3 separate regions of the Homo sapiens genome follow, and regions 2 and 3 are each linked to region 1. The links are contacts of gene promoters, found by promoter capture Hi-C in human tissues and cell types (Jung and others, 2019). All regions are on one chromosome and are shown on one strand. The core of a region is centred on a gene start or on the middle of the fragment in contact, and the rest is flanking DNA. Distances in the headings are between cores, read along the strand shown. Region 1 holds the start of VPS33B (VPS33B late endosome and lysosome associated). Region 2 overlaps SLCO3A1 (solute carrier organic anion transporter family member 3A1). Region 3 overlaps SLCO3A1 (solute carrier organic anion transporter family member 3A1).

Region 1 (3,376 bases), core at 154-2,653:
AAAGAAAAAACAAACGGTGTCTCACTCTGTTGCCCAGGCTGGGGTGCTGTAGCATGATCGTAGCGCACTGCAGCCTCAAACTCCTGGGCTCAAGTGATCCTCCTGCCTCAGCCTCCCAAGTATCGAGATTAAAGGTGCCCACCACCATGCCTGGCTATTTTTTATGTGTTGTAGTTGACCAATCTTATCTCAAACTCCTGGCCTCAAGCAACCCCCCGACCCCGACCTGGACCTCCCAAAGTGGTGGGAATTAGAGACATGAACCATTACTCCTGGCCAAATTATTTCACCTGTAAAAACTTCAGTATGTATCTCAAAGAGATAAGGACTTGTTTTTAACAGAAATACAAGCCTGTATGACATAGAAATACAAAAAATAATAATAACATAGAAATACAATACCTGGCCCAACGTTGTGGCTCACGCCTGTAATCCCAGCACTTTGGGAGGCCAAGGCAGGCGGATCACTTGAGGTCAGGAGTTCGAGATCAGCCTGGCCAACATAATGAAACCCCGTCTCTACCAAAAATACAAAAATTAGCCGGGCATGGTGGCACTCGCCTGTAATCCCAGTCTACTCGGGAGACTGAGGCAGGAGAATCTCTTGAACCTGGGGCGGCAGGGGGGTTGTGGCGCGGAGCTTGCAGTGAGCCGAGCTCCTCCACTAGGCAAAAGGGCGAGACTCTGTCAGGAAAAAAAAGAGAAGAAAAGAAATACAATACCCGAAAAGTTTTAGTAATTCCTTAAATCAGTTATCTTTGAATTATTATCCAAAAAAGATCCACACATTGAAACATTTTGTTGATACATCTCTTAAATCTCTTTTATTCTGAAGTGTTTTCCCCTCCCACATTTCCCACTTTGCCATTTTTTTGAAGACGACAGATCATTTGTCCCATATAATTTCCTACATTTTGGATATGGTTGATTTCATACCTTTGGTGTCTTAACATATTCCTGCTAATCTCTATATAGCCTATAAACTGGTAGTTAGATCTTGAGGCTTGATTAGGTTCAATTTTTGGCAATAGGTGATGCTCTGTATTTCCTATGCATCTCACCAGGAAATGATATGATGGTATGATTGATCAGAGTTGAGGTATTGTTAGCTAGCCTGATGCATTCATTATGTCTTTTTTTTTTTTTTTTTTTTTTTTTTTGAGGCAAGGTCTAGCTTTGTTGCCCAGGCTGGGGTGCAGTAGCGCGATCGCAGTTCACTGCAACCTCCGCCTCCCTGACTCGAGCGATTCTCCCACCTCAGCCTCTGGAGTGCTGCGACCCCAGGCGCCGCCACCTAATTAATAGACGCGTTGCCTCCGTTTTTCAAATGTCCCTTTCAGGACGCCGTCCCCTTCCTGGTACGCGAAGCGCTGGGAGCGAAAGGGACTTCCGGGAGATCTAGGAAGTCGCTTCTTTTTCTGGTAGAAGGCGGGGTTCTCCTCGTACGCTGCGGAGTCTCTGCGGGGTGTAGACCGGAATCCTGCTGACGGGCAGAGTGGATCAGGGAGGGAGGGTCGAGACACGGTGGCTGCAGGTCTGAGACAAGGCTGCTCCGAGGTAGTAGCTCTCTTGCCTGGAGGTGGCCATTCATTCCTGGAGTGCTGCTGAGGAGCGAGGGCCCATCTGGGGTCTCTGGAAGTCGGTGCCCAGGCCTGAAGGATAGCCCCCCTTGCGCTTCCCTGGGCTGCGGCCGGCCTTCTCAGAACGAAGGGCGTCCTTCCACCCCGCGGCGCAGGTGACCGCTGCCATGGCTTTTCCCCATCGGCCGGACGCCCCTGAGCTGCCTGACTTCTCCATGCTGAAGAGGCTGGCTCGAGACCAGCTCATCTATCTGCTGGAGCAGGTCAGTGCTTGCCTGACGCCTTTATCGCATCTACAGTTTAGCACTCATTGGATGCACATTTCTTCCTTGCCGTGCCCCTTTGATCTTGTTCTTGGCCCCTGGTATTGTCCTTGGCGCTTCCCCAGCAGGTCCAGAATGAATCCAGGGAGTAGTAAGAGCTGTTTGGAACCTGGCCAGAGAGTTAATGGAAATCACCCCCCAACCCCGCATACAGGCAAGGGAGACACCATTAGTGCCAGGCATCCCTAGGGACGGAAAGATGGTTAAGACATCTTTGCCATTAGGGATCTTACCACTCCAGTAGGAGCTGTATGAAGCACAAATTATCACACACAGGTGGTAAATGAGTGATAGAGCTAGTGTACCCGAAGAGTTCACAGTAAGTGATCATTTCTAGTTGGGGTGATGATCTAGGAGCTTCAAGGAAGTGAGTGTGAGTAATAAGCATATTTTCTTTGGAGACTAAGCATGCTCCAGGCAGATAGATTGGTAGGAGCAAAGTTGGCAAACCAGGGAAAGACAAGGCATGTAAGGGAAGACACCCATCAGCAGTTACACAGTAGCCACTGAAAAAAATTTTTTTTCCATTTGTGGCATGAGACAATACTTGATGATTCTAATAGTGATGTGTGTGGTGGCGTAAATGGGCAACAAGAAGGCCAGTTAGGAGACCGTAGATCAGACAAGAAATAAAGGCCCACACAAAATTGGTAGCAGTGGGAATGAAGGAAAGTGATGGATTTTTAAGTTATGGTGAAAGAAAACTCAAAGACTTACTGATTGGTTATAAATGTTGAAGGAGAAGCAAAAATGAGTGAGATTTTTAACCTGGGTTATTAGGAAAATAATACTGCCACTGTGATTTTAATGGATTACTTGTGTAATCATTTAGTTATTCATTTTATGTCTGTATTCCTCATTAGACTGGAAGGTGGGCAGGGATCATGTTTGTTTTGTTCAACACTACCTAGTGAGTACCTAGCTTAGAGTCAAGCACACACCATGTGCTTAATAAATATTTGTTGTATTAACATTGAATAGAAATGAGAAAAATAATTAGAAAAAGGAACAGGTTTGATGGGGGAAGTTGATTTGTTTGGGTTTGGATGGGGGAAGTTAAGATGCCCGTAAGAAATATAGCTTGTAACATCCAGCAGATAGAAATGTAGAACTGCAGCTGCATTGTGAGGACTGGAAGGAAGATGGATCAAGATGAGAACTGCAGGGCATCTTAGACCAGATTTTATTTCTATTTTATTTTATTTATTTTTTTGAGACACAGTCTCACTCCGTTGCCCAGGCTGGAGTGCAGTGGCGCGATCTTGGCTAACTGCAACCTCCACCTCCCGGGTTCAGGCGATTCTTCTGCCTCAGCCTCCCCAGTAGTTGGGATTACAGGCGCACGCTAGCCCACCTGGCTAATGTTTGTATTTTTAGTAGAGATAGGGTTTCACCATGTTGGCCAGGCTGGTCTCAAACTCCTGACCTCAGGTAATCTGCCCGTCCCAGCCTCCCAAAGTGCTGGGATTATAG
Region 2 (3,472 bases), core at 257-2,756, 1.0 Mb before region 1:
AAAAGGCCAATCTGTCTTCCAGTGTCTCCAGGTAGGTATTGCTCACCCTCTTTCCTGAGATAAGGGAACAGAGGCTCAAAGTGGAGAGAGAGAACTTGATACAATGCTGACCCCATCTCAAGGTGGATGACAGGAGCATGGACACCCAGCTGAGTACAGGCTGTCTGTCCAAGGAAACTTGTCTTAGAGCCCCAGACCAACCACACAAGTTCTGTGCACACTCAGCAGCTTGGGGCAAGGAGGGGTTGGGGATATGGCGATGAGCAGGGACACGGGCAGTGTGGAGTACCACTTTTGCTCTGAATTCGAGAACCCTGGAGCCCGGGGATTAGGAGACCGGAGCCTGCTTTACTCAAAAGCTGTGTCATTTGGTCTTTAAAGTCACAGCCTCGTGAGGTCATCACCAACTGCTCCCCAGTACATCTGCCCAAAATAGTACTGACATCTGGGTGTTTTAAAAAGAAGACTCATTGCTGTAGAATTACAAAGAGCATCTAACCCTCATCACGCAGCACTTTTGTTTCTGTCCAGCTTGAACTAAAAGGAGAGGGAGGAGGCCATCAATGGAAAATGTAAGTGTCTTCTTTGAAGAGTTAATCTGCTGATTTCACGGCTGTTCCTTCTGCCATTTCTCATCTCTCAGATACAAGCACGAACCTAGCACACACAAGACGGTCACGTAGCTGTTCATTTCACGATGGGATCAGAAGACAAGCTCTCATGCTCCAAAGCCCCTCCTTGATTCGTACTCCAAACTGAAGCTCCTGGTCTTAGCACACTCTCCCTCCCTCTCCAGGCTTGGCTCCTAATAAAATTGGAATAAAAATATTCCAAATCAAAAAACCCCTCAATTACACTTTCAAACCCTATTTGGTTCCATTGAGCAAATCCATGAGGTCTAGTGAATCCCTCCCTGTGCACTGATGATTCCAACTGCCCACAAGATGAAGTCTAAATGCCCCCAGCCACTCTTGCTCTGCCTTCCTATGCAGTCCAGGCTACAGGGATGCTGTCCCAAAGCTGTTCCCTAAGGGTGACACATTCCCTAGCCTCTGGGCCCTCACACATGCTGTTGCCTCTGATGAAATCTCTCCATCCACCTCTTGACCTGGCAAATCACACCTGTTTCAAGTTCCAGCTCAAATGTTACCACTGCCCTGAAGCCTTCACCTCACTGTGGACCCTGAGCATACTATATGCCTTACTTAATTCCCCTGATTATTTGCACCTCTATCATAGTAAGAGAAAAACACAAGAAAATTGTAGGTAATAATACTATGGAGAAAACACAACAGGTGTATGTGACAGAGTGACGTGGGGCAGAAGGCAACTTTGGATGGGTCAGAGAAGTCTGCTCTAAGAAGGTGGATTTGGGCTGGGGCCTGAGAGACAAGAAGACTATGTCTGAAGGCTGAGTGTCACCTGTGGAGGGAAAAGCATGCGTGAAAGTCTTAAGTGGGAGTGAGTTTGATGGATGTGAGGAATAGCAAGAGGGGCCAGGAGGCTACATCATCCCGAGCCGTAACAGCATAGCAAGACACAGGCTGAAGAGGAAGGCAGGCTCTCCCAGTTGTGATAAGCAGTCAGGGTTCTATCCTATGTGGAACAGGAAGCCACCAAAACATTTTAAGCAGGGACGTGACCTAAAAGATGATTCTGGTTGCTGAGTGAGTAATGGCTTACAGAGTGGACACATGATATGGTTGGTGGTAGTGATAGTGGCCAGGACTAGCACAGTGGACAGAAGATAGAGATGTAATGGGTTGGGGTGTAATTTGGAGACAGAGCTGAGAGCATTTACTGACACGTAAGATGTGGGTAATGAGGGCAAGGGCTTGTATCCACTTCCGACCATACCAGTGTGCATTCCCAGAGAGCAGGAGGCATTTCCTGAATCTCTGGATGGTGGCACCGTGCCTCCGTGTGCAGGGACTCTGTGACAACATCGCATCTGCTCAGACAAGTCTGAAAATGTGTTCCCTAGGTGTGTTTGTTTCCACTCTTCTTAAAGCTTGCAATAAATTGCCTTGTCATCTGCCTGGTCTCAAACAAGCCATCCCTCTGTGGCTGGCGACTCCTCAAGGGCAGAGTGCCCAGCCCACAGAGGTGCACTATCCACACCTGCTGAAGGCACTGAAAAGGCCACAGGTGCTAACACCTTCGAAGCAGAGAGCAGAGGCAGCATCACCAGAAAAAGTCCACAAGACCAGAAGCTAAAGGCCATGCTTATTTGTTTGTGACAGTCACCTAAGTGTGCAGCTTAGTGATCAGGAGCATTGACTATTGGTCACCCGGTCATGAGGCAATGACCCCTGGAAACATCTCAGACAGCACTAGGGTTCTGGGCATCTAGGGGCCTGCTGGATTCATTTTAAGCTGGAAGAAATTCCGCTGACATTTGCTGCTCCTTCAGGTTCTGAACTCTTCTGTGATTAAAAAGCTCACGAGCAACTTGTGCTCTTGCTAAGAGGTGCCAGTGTCACTGTACATTACAAAGCTGTCGAGTCTTCTTTTCCTCCCCGCCTCCCTAGCTGGGCCTTAAACAATTCCATGACTATTTCCTCCCAGATGTCTTCCTGAATGGCCCTAAATGTCAGTAATCTCTTGGAAACTGGCCACTGCTGCTGTTAATATCTAGGTTGTCAGACCTCTAACAGCGTTTGGATTTGTCATGGGCTATTAACTAGCTAACTCTTCATTAAGTCTTGGTAAAGATCGATTTCTGGGGGGCTGATCTAGCTCCACTTGTTTGCTAAATGGAAGAAACAGATGTGTCTGCCCACATCTCCAGTGGTTTCACTTTGTAGGATGCTGTGGCCTAGGCACTGGTTGGTAAAATCTTTGTCCCAAGGTGTTGGGCAGAATTGGCCTCCGTTGCCATGGTGACAGCAGGGCAATGGTAGCTTAGGGTCAGTTGCAAGAGCTTGGGGGTACTGGAGAAACCAGTCACTTCCTTCCGTCACCAAACCCACCCTGAACACACACCGCTTATTGAACCTTGAGCAAATCACTCACCCGAGCTGAGCCAATCACATAGTTTTTTTCCTGGGAATCTGGATTTCAGACACAGAGACTAAGAGACTTTAATAAGGTTGGGGGCTGGGGCTGGCACCGAAGCTAAAGCAGGGAGGGTAGCAGAGGCCAGGAGGAGAAGCCACTGTGCAGAAAGATGCAGGCACGACCTGCCTGTAAACTATCCAACTGTACCCTTAAAATAAACCCTATCAATGGGTGTCTTTTCCTTGTAACCACTCATCTCTAAGATCATGGGTTTTGACGTCAGACCAGCCTGGAATCAAATCTTGGTCCTGGCACTTCCTGTGTTATCCTTTCACATATAACCTCTCCAGGCTTTGGCTGCCTCATCTGTAAAATGGGGCTAAAGCCAATCATTTCATGGAGTTATGTGAGCATTCAGTGAGTCACCATTGGTGAAAGAACCTGCTTCACAACAATAAAGAAACTGCTGAAT
Region 3 (3,048 bases), core at 31-2,530, 1.1 Mb before region 1:
TGAACTTTTGACCTCAGGTGATCCACCCACCTTGGCCTCCCAAAGTGCTAGGATTACAGGCATGAGCCACTGCGCCCGGCTGAAAGATTTCTTAAAACAAACTTAAAAAACACTAGCTATTGAAAGAAAAGACTGGACTACATTACAATTAACAACTTCATTATCAGAGTGAAGCTGATTTATCAGAAGAGTTCACCAAGAATGTGAAAATGTGGGAAAATACATGTGCAACACATATATTTTTATAATACATGTAAGAATCAAGGAGTTCATATGTAGACTATATAAAAACTACTATAAATTGATGAGAAAGAAAAAAACCAGGAGAAAAATCGACAGAAACCTTAATAGGCATTTCAAAAAACAGGAAATCCAAATGAACAATAAGATATAAGAAAATGGTCAGTCTCATTAGAATTCAGAGAATTATAAATTTAGACCCCAATTAAATACGAGTGTGTTTCAGCTGGTTAAAGAGTCTGACACTACCAAGTGTTGGCAAGGATCTGAAGCTCTCCTACACTGCTGGTAGGAGTGTAAATTGGACAACACCTTGGCAAAACTTGGCAGTGTCTGAAAAAGTGAAGATAAACTAATCCAATGATGCACAATTCTGAGTCCTTGGTAAACACCCCACAGCAAGTGTGCTGACGGACTGCACATTCTTGGAGAAGCATCCAAGAATGCGCACACCAGCATTGTTTGTAAGATTTCCCAACTGGAAACTATCCCAAATGCCCAACCATGGTAGAACAGAAAAACATACTGTGATCTCCCGTACTCTGGAGTTACTCTACAGCAAAGAAAACAGATCATCTATAGGTGATCATCAATGACATGGTTGAAGTTGAAAGAACACGTCCTGGTGTGAGTCTACTTATGCAGGATTCCAAACAGCAAAGTTAACTCTTTAATGACAGGGAGTCAAACTATAAAGAACACCAGGGAAAGGACTATTACAGAAGTCAGGACTGTGGTTACTGTCGGGGGAAGGGAGGGTCCTTGGGGACAGGTGGGGAGGAGATTCTCCAATGCTAGTTTTGTGGTTGATTTGTTTATAGACTTCATGGGTATTTATTTCACAACAACGTGTAAGCTGTGTATCTACGTTTCAGGCAAGAAAACGTGATTTTAATATTTTTAATACACACGTATGCACATGCGTGATATAAGTACATACACACAAATGGCTATTTGAGTGCCTGCTGTGTGACGCCAGTTGGACTATGTGATTCACCAATGTTACCTCAGGATTACTCCCAACTAGGCAATGGGTTGGGTGCTACCATCCCAGTTTCATCCAAGAAGGCATGAGGCCCACTTAAGCAGCTCGCCCCGGGGCACTTGGCTTCCAGGCAGCAGCTTAACCACAATATGCCTACGCAAAACTGGGTCCCCAGTTAGCTCACGTGCAAATAGACAGGGTTGAAGAACAAAAACAACTAAACTTTGCTATTCAAAGGCAGCTCCTTGAATCGAGGAGTCCATTCAGATGCAGGCACACGGCTACTCTGAAATCAAAACTTACAGCAGGGAAGCCCAGTTGCCCTTCAGAGGGCAGGTGGGGTGGGATTCAGAGTGGGTTCTACAGCTGGACTGGATGTGCGTCCAAGTACTACCAACTTAACTGCCTGGAAACCTGGGGAGCCCCCTCAGCCTCTCTATGCTGGTTTGCTGCATCTGAAAAGTAGTGTGCTACTAAGACATTTTATAGGGCTGTGGTGAGTAATAAATGAAAGCAATGGTGGGGGCCCAGCCCTGGCACAGATGAAGCACTTCATAAACATCAGTTTCCACTGATGCTCCAAGAGGAAGACTCCATGGCACCCATTCTTGTTCTCCCTCCTTCCGCCTGGCCCTGCGGCTTCTGCAGGCTCACTGGAAGGCCTGCTCTTGGAAGAGATACTATCACTGGCTGGCTATGGTGGTGCATGCTGCATTGTTTGAGAAAAATGTTGACCCTTCCATGTGAACCTTTATTTTTCTCTTTGTCAAAGTGTAGCATGGGGCATGGCTCCTGCGTTGAACAGCCTGTGGGGCTGGGTGAGAGGAGCACAGGCTGCCCGAGGAGCTGCAGGCATCTGCTACCTGCTGGCATAAACTCTTTATGCCCCTGAGAGCAAAGCCAAACAGGCCATCCAGAAACCCAGGGACTGCTATCAGCTCCCCTACTCACTTTGCAATTAGATGCACCCATTCGTGTTTCTGACCCTCAAGGTCTCCTGGGGTGGAAAAGGACAGAGAGGTACTACTGACCTTGAGGGAGGATCGGTGTCAAGGCTCTGCTGTACTGGTGTGTCTGTGAGCATGGTACAAATGCTCCCTCGGCCTCAGTTTCCTCCTCTGTAAAATGGGATGACAACAATCCCTACCTCCTAAGGGGTTATTGAGGGTCAAATACGTAGTGCACAGAATGCTTCTGATCAATTCCTGGAACACAGACATTCTCAAAAACCATCAGCTGTTATTTGTTCTTCTTACTGGTGCCTCTAACAGCAGGATTTTCTTTTTTTATGACGTTTTAAATCACTTAGGTAAACTCTGCTTTTTTTAGAGAATGTGGAAAATACAGGATCATGTAAAGGATTAGCATCGTTCTCATATTTCCCTTTAGGCATTATTATATTTGTACTGTCTTTCTTCATATGCGTTTATCATTCCTGGAACCATGTAAGTTAATTTACAAACAAAACCCCTTTTCTTCATTTTAAAAGCAGCACATGCTCATTAAGGATGACTGAGGATAAACCAAGCGTAGAGAGGCAGAATAACACAGTGGCCAAGAACACAGACCCTAGAGCTGCATGGCCAGGGTCTGCAGTCACTGGCTGTGTGACCTTGACAAAGGTACTTACCTACTCTGGCCCTCCATACTCTCACCTGTGAGTGAGGTTAACAGTACCCACCTCGCAGGATTGTTTTGAGGTTTGGGTGATTAGTGCCTCACAAGGGCTTTCCACAGCGCCTGGCATACAGTAAGTGCTCAATAAATTTTAGCAATCATTATTACAAAGATGACAGCACAAATCACCATCTCTCACCACCCAG

The links. The method cuts DNA at HindIII sites, captures the fragments that hold promoters and counts their contacts. A contact is called where the count stands out against the background at its distance.
Region 2: a contact is called between a fragment that was not itself captured here and the fragment with the promoter of VPS33B in region 1, in 1 of the 25 tissues and cell types used here (aorta).
Region 3: a fragment that was not itself captured here is called in contact with the fragment with the promoter of VPS33B in region 1 in 1 of the 25 tissues and cell types used here (heart left ventricle).

Annotation. Positions count from the first base shown.
Region 1 is chr15:91,020,621-91,023,996 of GRCh38, reverse strand. It overlaps VPS33B (VPS33B late endosome and lysosome associated), which reads left to right and starts at 1,403. Exons shown (of 23, transcript NM_018668.5): 1 at 1,403-1,843. The coding sequence starts at 1,748. VPS33B-DT (VPS33B divergent transcript) reads right to left here and starts at 1,375. Exons shown (of 4, transcript NR_110104.1): 1 at 1,257-1,375; 2 at 26-684. RefSeq lists enhancers at 1,439-1,848, 1,703-2,319. The HindIII fragment of the contact is 30,515 bases long and covers 1-3,376 here.
Region 2 is chr15:92,048,887-92,052,358 of GRCh38, reverse strand. All of the region lies in intron 2 of SLCO3A1 (solute carrier organic anion transporter family member 3A1), which reads right to left. Among named protein-coding and RNA genes, the nearest start is that of SLCO3A1, 200 kb to the right of the region's middle. The HindIII fragment of the contact is 8,153 bases long and covers 1-3,472 here.
Region 3 is chr15:92,083,727-92,086,774 of GRCh38, reverse strand. The region is part of intron 2 of SLCO3A1 (solute carrier organic anion transporter family member 3A1); the gene reads right to left. Among named protein-coding and RNA genes, the nearest start is that of SLCO3A1, 230 kb to the right of the region's middle. The HindIII fragment of the contact is 4,745 bases long and covers 1-3,048 here.